2 separate regions of the Homo sapiens genome follow, and region 2 is linked to region 1. The links are contacts of gene promoters, found by promoter capture Hi-C in human tissues and cell types (Jung and others, 2019). All regions are on one chromosome and are shown on one strand. Each heading gives the region's core, a stretch centred on a gene start or on the middle of the fragment in contact. The rest is flanking DNA. Distances are from core to core; before and after follow the strand shown. Region 1 holds the start of SNX32 (sorting nexin 32). Region 2 holds the start of CAPN1 (calpain 1).

Region 1 (7,665 bases), core at 3,242-5,741:
CAGGAGTTGGAGACCAGCTTGGCCAACATAAAAAGACCCCATTTCTAAAAAATAAATACAATTACTTACTATTTAATTGTAGGTTTGCCTATTACTCCTTTTAGTTCTGTCATCTTTTATTTTGCATATTTTGATGCTATATTATTAGGTGCCTATAAATTTAGGATTGTTTTACCTTTCTGTGGAATCAAGTCTTTCATCATTATAAAATGTCCCTCTTTATTTCTCCTTCCTTCCTTCCTTCCTTCTTTTCTTCCTTCCTTCCTTCCTTCTTTCTTTCCTTCTTTCTTTCTTTTTTTGACAGAGTTTCACTCCCGTCACCCAGGCTGGAGTGAAATGGCATGATCTTGGCTCACTGCAACCTCCGCCTCCCAGGTTCAAGTGATTCTCCTACCTCAGCCTCCCGAGTAGCTGGGATTACAGGTGCCTGCCAGTACACCTGGCTAATTTTTGTATTTTTAGTAGAGACGGGGTTTCACCATGTTGGCCAGGCTGGTCTCAAACTCCTGACCTCAGGTGATCTACCCACCTTGGCCTCTCAAAGTGCTGGCATTACAGGCGTGAGCCACCGCACCCAGCCATCCTTCTTTATTTCTAATATACTTCTTCTTCTTCGTTTTTTTTTTTTTTTTTTTTGAGAGAGTCTTGCCCTGTTGCCCAGGATGGAGTACAGTGGCGAGATCTTGGCTCACTGGAACCTCCATCTCCCGGGCTCAAGCCATTCTCCTGCCTCAGCCTCCTGAGTAGTGGGGATTACAGATGTGTGGCACCATGCCCAGCTAATTTTTGTATTTTTAGTAGAGATGGGGGTCCGCTCTGTTGGCCAGGCTGGTCTCGAACTCCTGACCTCAAGTGATCTGCCCACCTTGACCTCCCAAAATGCTGGGATTACAGGTGTGAGCCACTGTGCCTGGCCCTTTTTTGGTTTTGTTTTGTTTTAAAGACAAGGTCTTACTCTGTGTCCCAGGTTGGAGTGCAGTGACACAATCACAGCTCACTGTAACCTCAAACAATCCTGAGCTCAAGCAATCCTCCTACCTCTGCCTCCCACATAGCTGGGACCACAGGTGTGCATCACTATGCCCAGCTCCCACCCATTTATGTCAACCCTTCTGTGTCCTTATATTTAAAATATGTCTCTTTTAACAAACTCTAGTTGTTTTTTTTCCAAAATACAATCTGACAATATTTTTTTAAATTGGAGAATTTAGTCCATTCATAATCATTGTAATTACTGATGTAGCAGGCTACCAACTTGTCATCTTGCTTTTTGCTTTCTCTTTGTCCCATCTGTTTTTATTCCTGTATTCTTTCTTTCTTGTCCTCTTTTGGATTATTTAAATAGTATTTTATATTATTTCTTTTATTTGTTTATTTTAATTTTTAAATTTTACTTTAAGTTCTGGGATACATTTACAGAATGTGCAGGTTTGTTACACAGGTATACATGTGCCATACTGGTTTGCTGCACCTATCAACCCGTCATCTAGGTTTTAAGCCCCACATGCATTAGGTATTTGTCCTAATGCTGTCCCTCCCCTTACCCCCCAGCCCCCCACAGGCCACAGTGTGTATTGTTCCCCTCCCTGTGTCCATGTGTTCTCATTGTTCAACTCCCACTTATGAGTAAGAACGTGTGGTGTTTGGTTTTATGTTCCTGTATTAGTTTGCTGAGAATGATGGCTTCCAGCTTCATCCAGGTCCCTGGAAAGGACATGATATTCTTTTTTATGGCTACATAATATTCCATAGTGTATATGTGCCACATTTTCTCTATCCAGTCTATCATTGATGGGCATTTGGGTTGGTTCCAAGTCTTTGCTATTGTAAATAGTGCTGCAACAAACACGTGTGCATGTGTCTTTATAGTATAATTATTTATAATCCTCTGGGTTTATTTATTTATTTTTGAGACAGATTCTCGCTCTGTTGCCCAGGCTAGAGTTCAATGGTGCGATCTTGGCTCACTGCAACCTTTGCCTCCTGGGTTCAAGCTATTCTCCTGTCTCAGTCTCCCAAGTAGTTGGGATTACAGGTGCGCACCACCACGTCTGGCCAATTTTTTGTATTTTTAGTAGAGATGGGGTTTCACCATGTTGGCCAGGCTAGTCTTGAATTCCTGACCTCAAGTGATTTGCCTGCTTTGGCCTCCCAGAGTGCTGCGATTACAGGCTTGAGCCACCACGCCTGGCCAGTATTTTATATTATTTCATTTTCTCCTCTATTATATTTTTGCTTATATATTCTTTTAATGTCTCTATATTTAAAGGAAGATCTTAGAGAAGGCAACACCTAACCTAGAGGATAAGTACTGGTAGTGAACTTTCAGAGTATGGCTCCTGCAAAGGCTGGGGGGTGCATCCATCTGTTCAATAGCTCAGCACATCCTCAGAACATACAGCAAAAATAATATAACAATAATAATAATATAATAGCTAACCCTTATGTTGGCCCTTACAATATGCTAGGCACCACTCTAACCATTTCATGTATATGCCCTAAGCATTTTATATATGTTAACTCCTTTAACCATGAAGATGAACATACATAGATAAACATTGAAGCAGACCATTCTGTTCCATGCTTTGTGTCTCTCAGCCCCTCTTGCCCCTCTAAACCACTTGAACCCCGCTCCTCATTTCTTGGCTTCTCTGACACTCCCAAGGCAGGCTCTCCCCTTGCCCCAGACCCCAAACACATGCAGTCTGGCTAACTGGTGCAGCAGGTCCCCTAGTCCCCAGCCTCTTTCCTCCTGCCTTAGTATCTCTACTCTGACCTACACTGCTTGGTAGCTGCTTGAGGGAGATGGGCCTCAAAGGTGGACCACAGCTGCTCCATCCTCATCCTCAGCCACGGCCCACTATGCATATGCCTCCATCTCCCAAAAGGGTGCACCTCTCCATGCTCTAACCATCCTTGGCACAACGTGGATGCTCGACAACTCTTTGCTGAAGGAAGTCAAAAGGAAGAAATGGTCTTATCATTACATGAACTCAGAACACAAGTGAAGCCATTAGGGCTGAACAGGATTCTCTCGCCTTGGGAAAGGAGAAGAGGATGCCAGCCTCTGCTCAATCCCTAACATCCTGCCCTCCTCCCCGCCCTCACCTCCCACCCCCTACCCACCTACCCCCATCAAGACAGCCTGAGTTGGTCTTGGGGAGGGTAAGAGTGACAGTGACGGGTCCCTTTCCATCTGTAAGGACAAAGGCAAAACCCTGCCTCCCTTGGCATCCTCATCAGTCCGCACACAGGTGCCACAGAGGCTCCCCACTCCCTTGCTCAAGTCTCCTTTCTCTCACTTGCGCAGACACACACATACACACAGAGACACATGGGCACATACACACACACAGACACACGAGACAAACACAGACACACGCACACACAGACACACATAGAAACACACACAGATACACAGACACACACAAACACACAGGCACAGAGAAACACACACACAGACACACACAACGACATACACAGATCATACACAGGCACACAGACACACACAGATGCACACACAGACACACTGACATAGACACACACAGATATACAAAGACACACGGATACAGACACACACAGACACATGCAAACACACACACAGACCCAGAAATACACAGACACACACACACAGACACACGCAGACCATACACACACACAGAGACACACACACACAGACATAAAGATGCACGCAGACCATACATAGACACAGAGACAGACACACACTCAGACACAAAGAGACACAGACCTGCGCAGACACACACAGGCACATGCGTGCACACACAGATACACACAGAGACACACACAGATGCATACATGCACACATGCAGACCATACACACAGACAGACACAGACACAAAGACACACGCAGACCATACACAGACACAGACACACAGACACACACACACAGACATGCACAGACACACACAGAGACAGACACAGACATGCACGCACAAACACCCACATGGACGCATACGTGCACACACACAGACACACACAGGCCATACACACACACACAGAGACACGGAGACACACAGACACACACACAGATACACAGAGACACACAAAGACACAGACACACACTGAGACACACACAGACACACAGACACACAGAGACACAAATACAGACATACACAGATACACACACACACAGACATATGCAGGCACATCGACATACACACAGACACACAGAGAAACAGACACATGCAGACTATACACACACAGACACACACAGAAACACACAGAGGCAGACCACACACACACAGACACACACACACCACCGCATGATTGGGCATCACGGGCTTTCATGGAGTGAGGGGAGGCTGGGGTGGGGGTCTTCATCCTTTCTCTACCTTGCCCTCCTTCCCAACCTCCGCATACGTCTCCATCGCTCTCCTGGGCTTCAGCGTCCGGCCACTGCCCGCGTGCTCCCGCAGGTCGTCCCCGTAACTCGCCCGAGGAACTGACCGAGTGAGGATGCTCTCAGCTGACGGGGACGCTCTCCCCCGCCCGGCCAAGGAGTCGCCTGGAGTCGGGGGCGGTTCCCACCGCGTTTCCCTCAGCCACGCCTTTCGATTGGGTAGCGGGGCACCGCGCGTGACGCCATTGGCTGCATTGTCTGTCGTTCCTGTCCCAGGCCCCAGCTTTTAAGGGACACGCGGCACGGAGAGTGGGCCGGTGATAGGCGACAGTGTGGGAGCTGGGGTCAGAGTTCATAGGGTCGCAGAGGCCGCGTGCCGCGTCTCCCTCCAGTCCCCGGGGGACTGACCCCCACAACAACCCCGTGCCGCCGTTCCGGGCCCCTCCTTCCAACGGCCACGTGCGGCCTGCGCGTGCGCACTCGCCCAGTTTGGCGCCCACCAGGCAGTGGGGAAGGGGAAGGGGAAGGGGAAGAGGGTGAGGGTGGCAGGGTGGGGACAGGGAATGGGAAGCAGTGGTGGGGATGTGGGTGGTGGACCAGGGGCGAGGGCAGGGGACAATGTCTGTGGAGAAGGGGGGTCTGTTTAGGTTTCCGCTCTTGGACGGGAGGGAGCGGCGGGGTAAGCAGCCTAGGAGGACTAGGGAGCTCCACAAGTCCCGCGGCCAGGGCGCCCCAAGCGAGGCCGGGGTCCGCGAACGGTCGCCACTGGAGCGGGGCTGCAAGGGGGTGCCGATGCTGCGAGAGAAAACCTGGGGACCTTGGAACGGGCTCATGGTAATTGGGAAGAGAGTGGAGCTCCTGACTAGAAACACTCGAAAGCCGAAGCTGGAGTCTGAGTACTGGAGACTGGAAGATGTGGAAAAGACGGTCTTGAAAGGGAAGTCAGGCCCGAGTCAGGAAAGGATGGATGTGAAGCTGCTATACCGTGGAGCAAGTGCATCACAAGCTTCAGCAGATTTGGGGAAAGACAGCCCAAGGGGTATTTGGGGAAAGCAAGAGGTCAAACACGAAATAAAGGCTAAATCTAAGAGTGCAGGGATGACAGCAGGGCCTATGAAGGGGTCTGGGTTTGAAGAGAGGTTGAGGTCTGCTGGGGAGAAGGTAGGGACCAGTGGAGAGGACTTGAGATCCAATGGATATAAACTGGGACAGGATGAGAAGGGGTTGAGGTCTAGTGTAGACAAGATGAGATCAAGTGTAGAGAAGCTGAGGTCTACTAGTGAGAAGCTGGTGTGCAGGGGAGAGAAGCAGGGGTCCAGTGGAGTGAAGCTGAGGTCCAGTGGCAGAAAGCTGAGATCAAGTGGAGAGAATTTGAGATCAAGTAGAGAGAAGCTGAGATGGAGTGGAGAGAAGCTGGGAACTAGTGGAGAGAAGCTGGGAACCAGTGATGAGAAGCTGAGGTTGAGTGGAGAGATGCTGAGATCAATCAGAGAGAAGCTGAGGTTGAGTGGAGAGAAGCTGGGAACCAGTGATGAGAAGCTGAGGTTGAGTGGAGAGAAGCTGAGGTTGAGTGGAGAGAAGCTGAGATCAAGCAGAGAGAAGCTGAGGTTGAGTGGAGAGAAGCTGGGAACCAGTGATGAGAAGCTGAGGTTGAGTGGAGAGAAGCTAAGATCAAGCAGAGAGAAGCTGAGGTTGAGTGGAGAGAAGCTAAGATCAAGCAGAGAGAAGCTGAGATTGAGTGGAGAGAAGCTGGGAACAAGTGATGAGAAGCTGAGGTTGAGTGGAGAGAAGCTGAGATCAAGCAGAGAGAAGCTGGGAACCAGTGGAGAGAAGCTGAGATCAAGCAGAGAGAAGCTGAGGTTGAGTGGAGAGAAGCTGGGGTCAAGTGCGGAGAAGCTGAGATCTAGTGAGGAGAAGTTAGGGACCAGCGGGGAGAAATTGGAGGGTTCAAGAATGGGGAGCATAAATGAGAAGAACATTGAAAAAGTGGTAGAAGTTACTGGCGATGAAAGAGTGATGGCATTTACTCATGATGAGATGGAAATTCCTTTTGAAAGTGTCAAAGGGAGTGAGGAACTACAAGGGACTGAGAAAGGAGTGGGAGTTGAGGGGGGCATCTTGAGTGAAGTGAAAGATATCACTGATGAATCTGTTTCTATGGAAAAAAAAGATATTATAGGTGAAGGTACCAGTGAATGAGGCAGATGAAGGATTGACACCAAAGAAGGAAAGAGGCAGACAGGAGAAGTACTGAAAGTCAGAGGAGAAATTAGAGCCAGACAGAACATTATTGACACTGAAGGGGTAAAGTTGAGAAAGGAAAGGAGAGAGTCTGAGCCTAAAATAAAAGAGAGTGGAAGTGAGGAAAAGAGCTTCTGGGGCTGAAGGCGGAGGCCAGGATCAAAGGAAGCAAAGAGGAGTCTCTGGTTCAGAGGGAAGTGGGAACATATGGAGGAGAAAGAGAAGACTTGGTAATGTGTTGACAGAGGACACTTGGATATTGGGAGAAAAGGTGTGACTGGGAGCTCATAGGGAAATGTTTGAGAAAAGGATGGAGGATGGGCTAGAAGGATTTAGTCTGACACTAAATGGGGTCTATGAGATGGAGAATTGCAGCAGGATAAAGGGTAGATTTTGAGAGTTGTGGAAGAAGGTGCAGACTGAAGTGGGCAAAATTTCTGAAAGAGGAGCCTGAAGAATGAAGGGCTCCCAAGTGACAAAAGCAAGAGAGGAGATAAGAAAGAAGTGAGAAAAAACATAAGAAGCCACGTGCCATAATGGTGATTGTGTTTGTTGGTATGTCCTTCATTATTTCCTTTTCTTTTCTTTTCTTTTCTTTCTTTCTTTCTTTCTTTTTCTTTTTTCTTTTTTTTTTTTGAGACAGTCTTGCTCTGTTGCCCAGGTTGGAGTGTGCAGTGGCGCAATCTCGGCTCACTGCAACCTCTGCCTCCCAGGCTCAAGCGATTCTCCTGTCTCAGCCTCCCAAGTAGCTGGGATTACAGACATGTGCCACCATGCCTGGCTAATTCCCTCACTATCTTCTAACTTCCAAGTATTGCTATTTATAAGTCTTTTTGTTCTTTTCTTTTAATTCTATAGATAGTGTTTTTTTCTATGTAAATTACCTGTTTGCTACCACTCCCTAACTCAACCTGTATCCTCACCCCATTTTCTCTGGCCTTACTAGAGGATGTTAGACCTTGAATTATAGCTGTTATCTTTTTTTCTCCTTTTGCCCGTCTCTTTTTATTGTATTCTCTGGGCAATTTCATTAACTTTAAAACAATTGATGTATAGTAGATGTA
Region 2 (7,665 bases), core at 1-2,500, 650 kb after region 1:
TCTGTGCGGGTAGCTCCATCCACAATGAACTGGGGGTTTGACAGCAGTTCCTACGAGAGACCCAGAGTCCTGTTCCTCGGCCAGCCCCTCCCAGAAATTGGCACCAGGCCACCCCAGACCCCATTCCCCACCAGGGACATGGAGTCCCATCCCTACTCCTCATCCAGGATCTGGCTTAGCCGAGTCCCACCCAGGATGGCCCCTCTCACCGTGGGACGCTTCCACTTGATGCCATAGGTCTTGGAGGAATTGGGACCCAGGTCCTTGTAACCCAGGCTCTGGGGTACCGGGGGGAAGGCCTCATCACGGAAGAGGGTCCCACTCTGCAGGCATCGCACCCGCAGCTGCTCATAATCCTGGCCCAGGTACTTGATGGCATTCTCATGGCGGCCCAGGCCCAGCTCCCTGGCCCGCTGCTTCTGCACTTGGGCTGACACCCCAGTGCAGTACACCGGCGTGATGATCTCCTCCGACATCCTGCCGGACAGATGGGCCTGCTCAGAACCCAGGCCTTCCCAAGACTAGAACCTGGGCTCCTGCCTGCAAGCTCTGCTCTCCTGCCCCTGCTTATCCATCCCCAAACCTAGGGTTTCCCTGCCTCACTGCTCCCCTCACAGAAGTAGGGTTCTCAGCCACCTCCCGGTGCTCCCAGTGAATCCAGGAAAGGGATTTCCCAGTTCCCAGGCGTGCCGGCCACCTCTCCTTTCCCGGATCCCATTGTCAGGGGCTTGCAGCTCTGTAGTGAGCCAGCAGGTCAGGTGGGGCAGGGCGGAGCCTCCAGACAGCACAAGGAACTGGGCAGGTGGGACACAGCAGGGAAGGCCTCTTTGATCCTGTTCACAGGCCTGCAACCCCCTCCCCAAACTAACCAAGCTCCTGGTGCACCGGCCCCTTGCCGTGGGCTGAAAACCCCAGACGGTCGGGGTCCCCCTCCTCAGGCCCCCGCAGCAGGCTCGATATCAGAGCTGGTGGGCCCTAGCCCAGCCCCTGGGGACAGCGGTGAGCCAGGCTGGGACAGGCGCCTGGGCTGTGCCGCTCCGCCAGCCCCCACCCCTGCTCCAGGAACGCAGAGGCCCCCGAGAAGGGACCGTGCTGGGGCAGCCCCTCAGCCCAGGAGCAGTGGCCAGGGTCAAGGAATCCCGGCTCGGCTACCCAGCTTCTTACCTGGGGGAGGGGTGTTTGGGGGTCGCTGCAGTCCCTGAGGCTGGCTTCCCGGTGGCAGCTCAGGGCAGGGCCCAACCAGGAAGAGCGCTCCTCCCCGCCCTCCTCCCGCCGCCCCTCCGCCCTCCGCCCTCCCTCTCTCCTTCTCCTCCTCCTCCTCCTGGGGCTCCTACCCCGCTTCCTCTCGGCTCTCCCTTATCTCTCCGGCACGGTCTCTGACTATCTCTTACTCACGGTGTCTCCCCGCCCCTCCCTCCGCAGGCCGGGGGCCAATTCCGCGAGAGGACAAATTAGTAAAAGGCAGAGCAGTCCCCGGGGAGGGGCCAGCGCGGGGGGGGATGGGGGGGCTGGGGCGCGGCGGAAGGGCACCGCGGGGAACGGAGGGGGAGGGCCGGGCAGGGGGTATTTTTAACCAGGGGCAGCAGCTCGAGTTGCAGGGCCGGACGGCCGCACCCCACGCGCGCCCTGGCGGGCATTCCGGGGCGATTGTGCGGCGGCGCCGCCTCCCGCAGCCCCGGGCCCGCCCGGTCCCCAGCTCCCCTCGCTCCGCGCGACCGCAGCTGCTCCCGCCGTTCCCAGCCAGCCCCGGCGCGGGGCCGAGATTACCTCGGGCTGCGGCAGCTGCTCTGAGGAGGGGCCGGGCTGGCAGCGAGCAGACCCCTGCCGGACACTCAGCAAACGGCAGCCTCACCCCGCAGGGCCGCGCCACTCCCCTTCCCCACCCCACCGCCGCGTCCCGGCTCAGCGCTCCCCGGGGAACGCAGGGGGACCGGGCTCGCTGCGTGACCTTGGGTAAGTCCCTGCCCCGTTCGGCCCGACTTTCCGCATGCGTGCATCCTATGGGATGGGGTTGGGCAATTGTGGGAGCCCATCTTTCTCTAACGTTCTGGGGTTTCTTGAACCTGGAAACTTAGAGAGGTGGACATCCCTGTTCTCTCCCCCAGGCTCTCAGCCCACCCACCTGGAAGCGCCCATGTGTCACCTTACCCAGGAGAGGGCGGCAGAGGCTGCGAGCAGGACGGCAGCCCCCTCTCCCCACCCCCAGGACCCTGAGATCCTGCTTCACGGGCTGCAAGAAGTTGGGGGGCCAGGATTCGGCGCGGAGGCCGGGGGTGTGGGTGGGGAGACTGCAGAGACTCCCGAGACCCCCCCAAGTCAGGGCTTTTCGCTGGTCTCGCAGCCCCAGCCCAGCAGCTGCTGCAGTCTTGCATGTTGTGGATGCAAGCATTTTGCTGAGGAAACTGCATAGCGTTCCCAGGACTCTAGGGCCCACGACCCCTCAAAAGTTAAGAGCCGCTGATCTAATCTAACCCCACTTTCACCCTCAGTTAACAAAAGAGGAAAACTGAGGCCTGAGAGGGTGTGACTTGCCTGAAATACCTAACCTGGTGAGTGATGGGTGGAACCAGCTCCTAGGCTTTCTGCGCAGGTGTCCAGGGACAGAGAAGGGTGGTTTAAACTAGAGAGGTGGCAGGCAGAAGTAGATGGATTTGATAACTATTTAGGATACACCATCAAAATTTAACTCAAACTGGATTACACACCTAAATATAAATGGCCAAACCATAAAACTTTTTTTTTTAAAAATGGAGACAATCTTAACAATATTGGGTTTGAAAAGATTTCTTTTTTCTTTTCTAAAGGCAGGGTCTTGCTTTCATTGACCAGGCAGGAGTGCAGTGCCCTGATCACAGCTCACTGTAACTTTAAACTCCTGGGCTCAAGAGATCCTCTCACCTCAGCCTCCTGAGTAGCTGAGACTACAGGCACGTGCCACGACACACAGCTAATTTTTAAATTTTTTGTAGAAATGGGGTCCTGCTGTGTTACTCAGGCTGGTCATGAACTCCTGGGCTCAAGCAGTCCTCCTGCCTGAGCCTCCCAAAGTGCTGGGATTACAGGTGTGAGCTTTGGCACCTGGCCAGATTTCTTAAATATGACACAAAAAGTGTAAATGATAGAAGAAATCAATAAATTGAACTTCATCAAAATAAAACGCTTTTGTTTCTCAAAATGCACGAAACTATTAAAAATGAAAAGATAAGCCATAGACTAGGACGAATATTTGTAAAAATTCTATCTGATGTAGGACTTGTATAAAGAACTTTTACAATTGAATAAAAATCCAATAAAAATGGACAAAACATTTGTTTGTTTTCTGGTGTTTGTTTTTGTTTTTGAGATGGAGTCCCGCTCCATCACCCAGGTTGGAATGCAGTGGCGCGATCCTGGCTCACTGCAACCTCCACCTCCTGGGTTCAAGCAATTCTCCTGCCTCAGCCTCCCCAGTAGCTGGGATTACAGGCGCCCGCCACCACACCAGGCTAATTTTTGTATTTTTAGTAGAGACAGGGTTTCACCATGTTAGCCAAGCTGGTCTCAAACTCCTGACCTCAAGTGATCTGCACGCCTCTGCCTCCCAAGGTGCTGGGATTACAGGGTGAGCCACCGCGCCTGTCAAAAAATGGACAAAACATTTGAACAGACACTTCATCCAAAAAGATCTCTGGATGGCAAATAGGCACATTAAAAAACACTGAGTGCATTACTCTTAGGGAAATGCAAATTAAAGCCACTAGAAGGACTGCTTCTAAAAGAACACCTACTAGAATGGCTAAAAGTTAAGATCAACCATACCAAGTGTTGTTATGTTGTCAAGGATATAGAAGAACTGGAGCTGTCATACACCAAGAGAGGGTAAAATGATCACCACCACTTTGGAAGACAGTTTGGCAATTTCTTTAAAATTTAGCGATACAAAGAAATCAGCCATCAAGCTACAAAAAGACATAGCATAACCTTAAACGCATATTGCTAAGTAAAAGAGGCTGGTATTAAAAAGCTGCATACTGTATGATTCCAATAACTCTATATGACGTTCTAGAAAAGGCAAAACTAGCAATGGTAAAAAGATCAGCAGTTGCCAGGGATTCAGAGGGGTAGGAGAGGGATGGAGCACAGGGCATTTTTAGCACAGCGAAACTATTCTGTATGATACTGTAATGACGGATGCATGACATGCATTTATCCAAACCTGCAGAATGTACAACACTAAGAGTGAACCTTAATGTAAACTATGGACTTGAATTAATAATATTGTGTCAATATTGGTTCATCAGTGATTACAAATATACCACAGGCTGAGCGCAGTGGCTCACCCCTGTAATCCCAGCACTTTAGGAGGCTGAGGTGGGCGGATCACATAAGGTCAGGAGTTCGAGAGACGAGCCTGGCCAATATGGCGAAACCCTGTCTCTACTAAAAAATACAAAAATTAGCTGGACGTGGTGGTGGGCTCCTGTAGTCCCCACTACTAGGGAGGCTGAGGTAGGAGAATCACTTGAACCCAGGAGATGGAGGTTGCAGTGAGCCAAGATCACACCATTGCACTCCAGCCTGGGCGACAAGAGCAAAACTCCGTCTCAAAAAAAAAAAAAAAATAGAACTTAGTCACTGGTTAGATATGGCTCTTGGACACCAGGAGAGACCAAAGACAACTTCAGACCCTGGATCTGGCTTGAGCACCTGAGTAGATTAAAGAGAAGGGGGAATGCACTAAGCTGGAGGGACAGTATGGGATCAGGGTATGGGGTATCTTTGGGATCCCCCTATCCAAGAGGAGATTCCTAGGGGTGAGGAACAGACCTTGTGCTCAAAATAGAGGTACAAATTTGGGAGTCACTAGCCACCAAAAAGCAGAGGCAAGGGGGCTGACACCTTGGTCTTCATATGAAGATGCTTCATATAGATGTCAATTCTCCTTAAATTAATCTCTAAGTGTATCACAATGAAAAATTTTAAGAGTCTTCTGGTGGGAGATAAGGAGGGACTAGAAAAGCTGATTTAAAGGTCATATGGCAAATTAAACAAGTAGGAAACTTCTGAAAATAAAAGACATAATGAGTATAGACTAATCCTACCAGATATTAAAACACAACAAATCTATCATTAAAAGGTAATAATTAAAGAGGGTTACTGACACATAGAGATCAATAGAAGACAGAGAAATTTAGAAACAGATTCAAATACAGGCAGGAATGTAGTAGATGATAAAAGTACCATTTCTAATCTGTTGAGAAAAGATGAGTTAATAAAAGACATTAGGAAGAAAAGGGAGCAATCTGGAAAAAAAGTAAGTTGGATTCATAATTTGTATCTTAGAAAAAATTACAGATGAACTCAATTTATAGGTTTGGAATATGTTGTTCCTAATGAAAAAAACATTTAAAAAGGCTGGGTGTGGTGGCTAACACCTGTAATCCTAGCACTTTGGGAGGCCAAGGTAGATGGATCACCTGAGGTCAGGAGTTCACGACCAGCCCGGCCAATATGGTGAAACCTCGTCTCTACTAAAAATACAAAAAAAAAAAAAAAAAAAGCTGGGCATGGTGGGTGGCAGGCGTTTGTAATCCCAGCTACTCGGGAGGCTGAGGCAGGAGAATTGTTTGAACCCAGGGGGCGGAGGTTGCAGTGAGCCGAGATTGCACCACTTCACTCCAGCCTGAGCAAAAGAGTGAGACTCCGTCTCAAAAAAATAAATAAAAATTTTTTTAAAAATTAAAAAATAAAAACTCTAGGTCTGGTGTGGTATCTCACACCACCTGTAATCCCAGCATTTTCGGAGCCTGAGGTGGGAGGCTCTCTTGAGCCTAGGGGTTCAAGGCCTCAGTGAGCACCGCTGCACTCTAGCCTGGGCAACAAAGCAAGACTCCATCTCTAAAAAATCAATAAAAAATAGGCCAGGCGCGGTGGTTCATGCCTGTAATCCCAGCACTTTGGGAGGCTGAGGCAGGTGGATCACGAGGTCAGGAGATCAAGACCATCCTGGCTAACACGGTGAAACCCCATCTCTACTAAAAATACAAAACGAATTAGCCGGGCGTGGTGGCGGGCGCCTGTAGTCCCAGCCACTTGGGAGGCTGAGGCAGGAGAATGGCGTGAACCCAGGAGGCAGAGCTTGCAGTGAGCCAAGATTGCGCCACTGCACTCCAGCCTCGGCGACAGAGTGAGACAACGTCTCAAAAAAAATAAATAAATAAAAATAAAAATTAAATGTTAACCTTCAATATTTAAACGTACAAAAATGAAAACGAAAATACAGCCAGAAGCTGGCTGGGCACGGTGGCTCATGCCTGTAATCCTAGCACTTTGGGAGGCTGAGGTGGGTGGATCACTTGAGGTCAGGTGTTCAAGACCAGCCTGGCCAACATCGTGAAACCCTATCTCTACTAAATATACAAAAATCAGCTGGGCATGGTGGCACACACCAGCAATCCCAGCTACTTGGGAGACTGAGGCACAAGAATTGCTTGAACCCGGGAGATGGAGGCGGAGGTTGCGGTGAGTGGAGATCGCACCATTGCACTCCAGCCTGGGCAACAAGAGCAAAACTCCATCTCAAAAAAAAAAAAAAAAAAATACAGCCAGGAGCTAAAGGAGAAACTTTTTGTATCATCTCAGTGTGGAAACAGTCTTTTTAACTATGACACAAAACCCAAAAGTCATAAAATTGCATTTTTTACTACATTAAAAATCCATACAGTTATGTCAAAATGATGGACTGAAGAAAACATTTACAATTAACATCTTAAAGGAGTATTTTTCTCCATATACATATATAAAAAATCATGTTCTGGGTGTGGTCGCTCATTCCTATAATCCTAACACTTTGGGAGGCCTAGACAGGAGGATTGATTGAGGCTAGGAGTTTGAGACTAGCCTGGGCAACATAATGAGACCCCATCTATAAAAAAATTAGAAAATTAGCCAGGTGTGGTGGTGCATGCCTGTCATCCCAGCTACTCCAGAGGCTGAGATGGGAGGGTGGCTTGAGCCCAGCAGTTGGAGGCTGCAGTGAGCTATGATTGTGCCACTTCCCTCCAGCCTGGGCAATAGAGCAAGATGCTGTCTCTAAGAATAAAATAAAAGTAAATCCCAGCACTTTGGGAGGCCAAAGTGGGTGGATCGCTTAAGCCCAGGAGTTCGAGATCAGCCTGGACAATACGGTGAGACCCTGTCTGTACCAAAAATACAAAAAGTTAGCTGGGCATGGTGGCCTGTAGTCCCAGCTATCCCAGAGGTCGAGGCTGCAGTGAGCTGTGATCGCACCACTGTATTCCAGCCTGGATGACAAAGCAAGACCCTGTCTCAAAAAAAAAAAGTTCACAAATAAAAGAAGACAAATAGGTCTTAAACATATGACAAGATGTTGAGCTCACTGAAAAGCAAATGTGAATTAAAATTTCACCAAGAGACTGTTTCCCACTTAGCAGTTTGGCAAAGATAAAAATCTGGCACCTCACGGCTGGGTGCGGTGGCTCACGCCTGTAATCCCAGCACTTTGGGAGGCCGAGGCAGGCAGATCACGAGGTCAGGAGGTCAAGATCAGCCTGACCAACATGATGAAACCCCGTTGCTACTAAAAATACAAAAAAAAAATTAGCCGGGCGTGGTGACGCACATCTGTAATCCCAGCTACTCAGGAGGCTGAGGCAGGAGAATCGC

The links. The method cuts DNA at HindIII sites, captures the fragments that hold promoters and counts their contacts. A contact is called where the count stands out against the background at its distance.
Region 2: a contact is called between the fragment with the promoter of CAPN1 here and the fragment with the promoter of SNX32 in region 1, in 1 of the 25 tissues and cell types used here (adrenal gland).

What each region holds. Positions count from the first base shown.
Region 1 is chr11:65,830,789-65,838,453 of GRCh38, reverse strand. It overlaps SNX32 (sorting nexin 32), which reads right to left and starts at 4,491. Exons shown (of 13, transcript NM_152760.3): 1 at 4,353-4,491. The coding sequence starts at 4,388. LOC124902693 reads left to right here and starts at 4,655. Exons shown (of 7, transcript XM_047427980.1): 1 at 4,655-7,156. The coding sequence starts at 4,943. The coding sequence ends at 6,559. RefSeq lists an enhancer at 4,410-4,499 and silencers at 4,424-4,636, 4,810-4,939. The HindIII fragment of the contact is 13,089 bases long and covers 1-7,190 here.
Region 2 is chr11:65,175,513-65,183,177 of GRCh38, reverse strand. CAPN1 (calpain 1) reads right to left here and starts at 1,250. Exons shown (of 22, transcript NM_005186.4): 1 at 1,165-1,250; 2 at 210-477; 3 at 1-50. The coding sequence starts at 476. It overlaps CAPN1-AS1 (CAPN1 antisense RNA 1), which reads left to right and starts at 1,344. Exons shown (of 2, transcript NR_145677.1): 1 at 1,344-1,953; 2 at 2,106-3,307. RefSeq lists enhancers at 1-773, 774-1,563 and silencers at 586-880, 1,482-1,931. The HindIII fragment of the contact is 8,891 bases long and covers 1-3,676 here.